Linked DNA regions of Homo sapiens: region 1 is linked to region 2. Evidence: promoter capture Hi-C in 16 types of primary human blood cells and fetal thymus (Javierre and others, 2016). All regions are on one chromosome and are shown on one strand. The core of a region is centred on a gene start or on the middle of the fragment in contact, and the rest is flanking DNA. Distances in the headings are between cores, read along the strand shown.

Region 1 (2,700 bases), core at 126-2,625, 500 kb before region 2:
CACAAGACCCTGGAGGCATTATCTCTTACCTTTATCTGTGCTTCCCATGAAGTTGGTACAGTGCTTGCTCCCTATAAGCACTCAGCTAATGCCGATTCATACAGCATAAAAGTTTCTAAAACTTGGTAGGGGATAGAGTCTTTTTTTTTTAAAAAAAAAAAAAAGGGGGGGGGATCCAGAATAACAAGATGTTCTAGACTTTAGAACAGTTCATATGGCTATTAGGTCATCCTCCGAGATTCACATTCTTGTGAATGTGGTACAATCTTGAATGTTTTTAAGGAATCCTCTGGCTCTGGGTTTGTCTAGGCAATAGAAAATGAAGACTCTAACCCCAAGGAGGGCAAAGCTCCTGGGAAGTAACGTGAACACCTCATCTCACCACCTCTGCCTTGGGAGTCAACACAAATTTATCTTTAAGAAAAAGCAGACATCCTAAAGAACTCCAGGGCCAATGGAGGACCCTGGCCTTCCTCGGAAGCTGACACAGAAGGCTAAACCTTGCTCACTCTCAATCTAATTTCCCTAAGCTCATTTTTAACCGGTCAGGTCACCACAACCCAAATAGCCAGCATTCCCACAAGAATAGGTCCAGGTCAGGATAGCTGTATTTATTGTATTAATAGTATGATACCCACAATAAAGGAAATGAGAAGCCCATCCTCCCATCATGAACTCAGCCCTGCACTGACCAAACCCAACGGAGCAGTCAAGGAGCCACAATTTAAGACAATGACATATTAAACTGAGGCAAGAGGTGAGAGACTAAAACTGCATTTTGAGGAATCATTAAAAGAAGCTGAGGGTGTTTGACCAAGAAAAGAGAAGGCCTGGTAGCTGCATTGTAGAATTTGAAGGAAGAAAGTATATGAAAGATGTTGACCATTCCAAAGCCAGACAGATGGCAGAATTAGAAGCAGTGAGTGAAACATATACAGGGCAGATGTCTTAGTCTAGGTTCCTTAGAAAACAGACTCTAAGGCAAAGCTTAGGCATTACTGCTTTCTCTGGGGGCAAAAGGTAAAAAAAAAAAAAAAAGACATGCATGGCAAGGAAGGAGGGAGAGCAAGAAAAAAATAGTATGTTATCAGGCTGTACACAGCTTCCCAAGAAACACCGCTGGTCACACGTCTCTGCAGAAGCAGGGCAGGCACTGCACTATGCAGCAGTCAGCAGGAAGAAGAGGAGCTAGTCATTTATTTCCCGGATACTTCCTGACTCTTCACTCTCCACATGGCACAAATATCCCTACACTTCTTTTTGTTTTGTTTTGTTTTGAGACAGAGTCTCACTCTGTCACCCAGGCTGGAGTGCAGTGGTATGATCTCAGCTCACTGCAACCTCCGCCTCCTGGGCTCAAGGGATTCTCCTGTCTCAGCCTCCCCAGTAGCTGGGACTCCAGGTATGTGCCACCATGCCCAGCTAATTTTTGAATTTTTAGTAAAGATAGGGTTTCACCATGCTGGCCAGGCTGGTCTCAAACTCCCTATCTCAAGCGATCCGCCCTCCTCAGCCTCCCAAAGTGAAATACCCCTAAACTTCTTAGTAACCTTCTCCTACCCCTTCAAGGGGCACTGAGAGAACCAGAGCCTCAGTGGTGCAGCAGGATCTGATCTGGCCCAAGCCCTGGAGTTGCCACAGCTCCTACCACAGAAAATGTGACCAAGGCTGTGCCAAAGCCCAGCCGTCACACCCAGGAAAGTCAGAAACTACTGAGTGTAAGGAGATGAGGTGGCCACAATGGCAGTGGCGGCCAAAGCTTTATAACTGCAGGAATGGCCAGAAGCTGGGCTAACAGCCGAGGCTGTGGGGATGGGTTCATAGACCACACCAGAACATTAGGTTTTAGTAAGATGTCAGTTTGAAACCATTTAACATTTGAAACCATCTAACGATAGAATTAGCCAGTGCTTTTCAAACATTACGTATATATGAGTACCCAGTACCCAGGAATCCTGTCAAGGGAAGATTCAGATTCAGCAAGTCTGGGATAGGGACTCAGATCGAGCATTTCCTACTAACTCTCCAGGGATGCCCCGTTGCTACCCCCAGGCTACACTCTGAATATTAGGTGAATGTTCTGCTTCACAAAGTGGTGAGTTTTACATCCCTAGGTGTGTTTTAGCAGATCCTGAATTGATTGATCTTCTGTCACAAAAAGTCAGGTATTTTGCAGAAAAGGTCTCCTGCCTGGGAATAAAAGGTTGAACTAAATGACCACTGTAGAACTTTCCAAATCTAAGATTTTTATTTATTTACCAAAACCTGATGAGCACTAAACCAATAATGAATGATACATTAGTTTAAAAAGAAGAAATGCCTAGCTTTAATCTTATTCATTGCTCACTTTTCAATGACTCCTTATCAAATCCAAAGTACAATTAGCCAAGATCCTGATTGAAATTTAGAGCTTTACCTAATGACGACTGACCAGAAATGGATGTAATTCAGTCAGTAACTAATATGAGTGATGTTTTTCTCATCATCTCCCTTTCAAAATCCTTCCTCAACCACAAGAAACTCAAGGAGTAAATGCAGAGATGTTAAAAGGTATAGACAGGACATCTAGGATTATAGGATTATTAGAGACTGTCTCCTCCAGACTCTTATCAAGCCTGAGTTAAGTGTAACGTGAAAATTCAATCCTTTCACTTCATTCCCTGATGAATGAAAACCAAAAGAAAATCTCAATCCAGACGC
Region 2 (2,700 bases), core at 118-2,617:
GTCAGTCTGTGGGAGACAGGTTAAAAAGTGATATTTTCCCTTCCTACTTTCCAAATTTTCTTAACAAACATATATTATGACTATAATCAGAAAAAATTATTTTTAAAACGTCTACTATGGGGCAAGCTAGGTTCAAAAAATAGAAGTTTGATAAATGTAGTTGGCTTGCTATTGACAAGGAAGACGTTTACACTGGAATTCTATATTTTGAGATATACCATTCCTCATAGAAAAATTTCCTCACAGAAAATATAAAGGTGGAAACAAATCACAAGAATCGAACCATGTAGAGAGACTTAGTTGTCTTTTAACAGAATTGGGCACGGGCTGTTCAGAAACAACAATCTTTCACATCCATTATAATGATAGCATTAGTGTAGTTTGTTTAGCAAATGTTTACTGTGAGCCTGTTATGTGCTGAGCCTGCTATGTAAGAAGTGTGGCTCTCTGGACAGGAGACAGAATACTAAACAACACAACTACTGATCTTTGGCTGCCTGGCATGCTTCCTCACTTCATATGGTATCAGCAATTTAGCACCACAAACGTCCTTTAGAGAACCAGCCCTTTCTCATTCTTGGTTCTAGTGGCTTGAGTAGACTGACCCCAGCCTACCCAAAGTGGATTTGACTCCTAGCAATTCATTAATCTAGCCCAATAAAATGTCAAGTACAGGACTTTTATTGAAAGCATTCAGAAAAGAGGTGGACTCTCACACTAAACATTTGTAACTAAATAAGGGATGTTAGAAATTCTCTAGAAAGGAAGCTATGATAATAAATGGGTTGCTAGATGGGTCTAGTAGATGGTGGCCATGCTTTGTTACTGCCTTGTGTATTGTGCTACCATAGCCCTCCCCAAACTGTACTCTGGCTCCTGGCATTTCCGTCTCTTCAACCAGATGGTCAGCTCTCTAAGTGAAGGAGACACATCTCCAACATGCTTGGTTCTAGCACAACAGAAGGGCTCAAACACATACCTGCTAAAGAAACTATCCTGATGGATTTAGCAGCATGGCCATGAGGCATTGGCGGTTCTATCACTGGGAACTCAGGTTTCTGGTGCTCCAGTACCTCTACTGGCTGATACCACATCCTACAATTCACTTCATAGGCTTGGGTTCCTGCTCTGGGCTGAATAGGTGGTCCACTCTGAGTCATCAGCTGTGGGTGATGATGTGGTCACTGCATGATTCTCACACAAGCACCCAGAGGACGTCATCAGGCAGAGGCAGTGGGGGTGGGCAGCATTTACAGAAAATCTGTGATGAGACACCACAAAACCAGAGGGGAACATGAAGTCACTGAGCCTGCTCCACCTCTTTCCTCTCCCAAGAGCTAAAAGAGAGCAAGGAGGAAACAACAGCAGCTCCAACCAGGGCAGCCTTCCTGAGAAGATGCAACCAATCCTGCTTCTGCTGGCCTTCCTCCTGCTGCCCAGGGCAGATGCAGGTGAGTGACCGTCTCCACCCTCGGGGGCCCAACCCCATCCCACAGGTCTCCTGCCCTTTCTCCACATTCCTGATCCATCTATCTACCAGGAATGTTCTGAACTCCAGCTCCCATTCTACCAAGACCCCCCAAGTGTGATGCTGGATAAGCTATCAGCAGGAATGGCAGAGCAGCAGGCCATTCTCAAGAAGAGCCAGTGGGTACTATCCCTTCCCCAGAGCCCACCTTTGTCACCTGGAGAGTAGGACTTTCCTAGAAGTAAATGGCAGAGGATGGGAAACTAGAAAAGAGAAATATTAAATTATTCTAGAGTAGGCCTGGCTTCTGTTTCTGGGATAAGACAGGTGCTTCTCTCACTGTCTACTTAGGAGAGAAACCCAGAGCTCAGCTGACAGCAGAATTGGTACAATCACTGTCCTCAGAACACTGTTAATGTGTTTGCTCAGTCCCATTCTCCAACTCTGCTTTTCTTCCCTGGCCTTTGGTGGCTCCCCTCTTTCCAAGGATGAGGCACTACGGCAGGCCCCAGCTTCCCTGCTTTCTAGAATTCCACCAGCACTGCTCTACCAGCCCTCATCCAGAGGCTAACTGGAGCCAGTCCATCATGCAGCCATGAACATTTACTGGGCACCCACTACATGTCAGGCTCTAGGAAACAGGATATGACAGTATCTAGATCCCTCCACTTACACCCTGGCCATTAGAAAGCAGCACTATCCTAGACACCACAGGACTCATAAGGGTCTTGGAAACTCACCTGAAACAAAGCAAAGTCAGGAGAGGAATGATCAGGAGCCTCTGGGATTTCACTGTCCCTAAGACAGGTATGCTCGCCTTCAACTACATATGGAAGAAAGATTTACAGACCAAAGTCTGCTGTTCTTCCCTTTTTCAGAGCAGGAAATTGAAGCCCCTTCCTCCAGGCCACTCCCAACTCCAGGCTATCCCAGGCTCCCAAATGCCCAGGAGTTCTGGAGCCACTAAGCAGGTGCCCACCCAGCAGATTCCATGGGTGCCCACAAGCAGACAGACTTTTCCTTCAGGGGAGATCATCGGGGGACATGAGGCCAAGCCCCACTCCCGCCCCTACATGGCTTATCTTATGATCTGGGATCAGAAGTCTCTGAAGAGGTGCGGTGGCTTCCTGATACGAGACGACTTCGTGCTGACAGCTGCTCACTGTTGGGGAAGGTGAGGAGCAGAAAACAGCCCACACCCTCCTGGAAACACTCCACAGAGACCCCTGCCT

What was found. Contacts are between HindIII fragments. The CHiCAGO score rates a contact against its expected background, and 5 or more counts as called.
Region 1: a contact is called between a fragment that was not itself captured here and the fragment with the promoter of GZMB in region 2, in 1 of 17 cell types (total CD8 T cells). The highest score is 5.7, in total CD8 T cells.

Annotation. Positions count from the first base shown.
Region 1 is chr14:25,133,375-25,136,074 of GRCh38, reverse strand. All of the region lies in intron 3 of LINC02286 (long intergenic non-protein coding RNA 2286), which reads left to right. Among named protein-coding and RNA genes, the nearest start is that of LINC02286, 22 kb to the left of the region's middle. The HindIII fragment of the contact is 772 bases long and covers 990-1,761 here.
Region 2 is chr14:24,632,857-24,635,556 of GRCh38, reverse strand. It overlaps GZMB (granzyme B), which reads left to right and starts at 1,367. Exons shown (of 5, transcript NM_004131.6): 1 at 1,367-1,451; 2 at 2,495-2,642. The coding sequence starts at 1,397. GZMH-AS1 (GZMH and GMZB antisense RNA 1) reads right to left here and starts at 2,455. Exons shown (of 3, transcript XR_007064087.1): 1 at 2,209-2,455; 2 at 1-1,261. RefSeq lists an enhancer at 789-1,988. The HindIII fragment of the contact is 9,884 bases long and covers 1-2,700 here.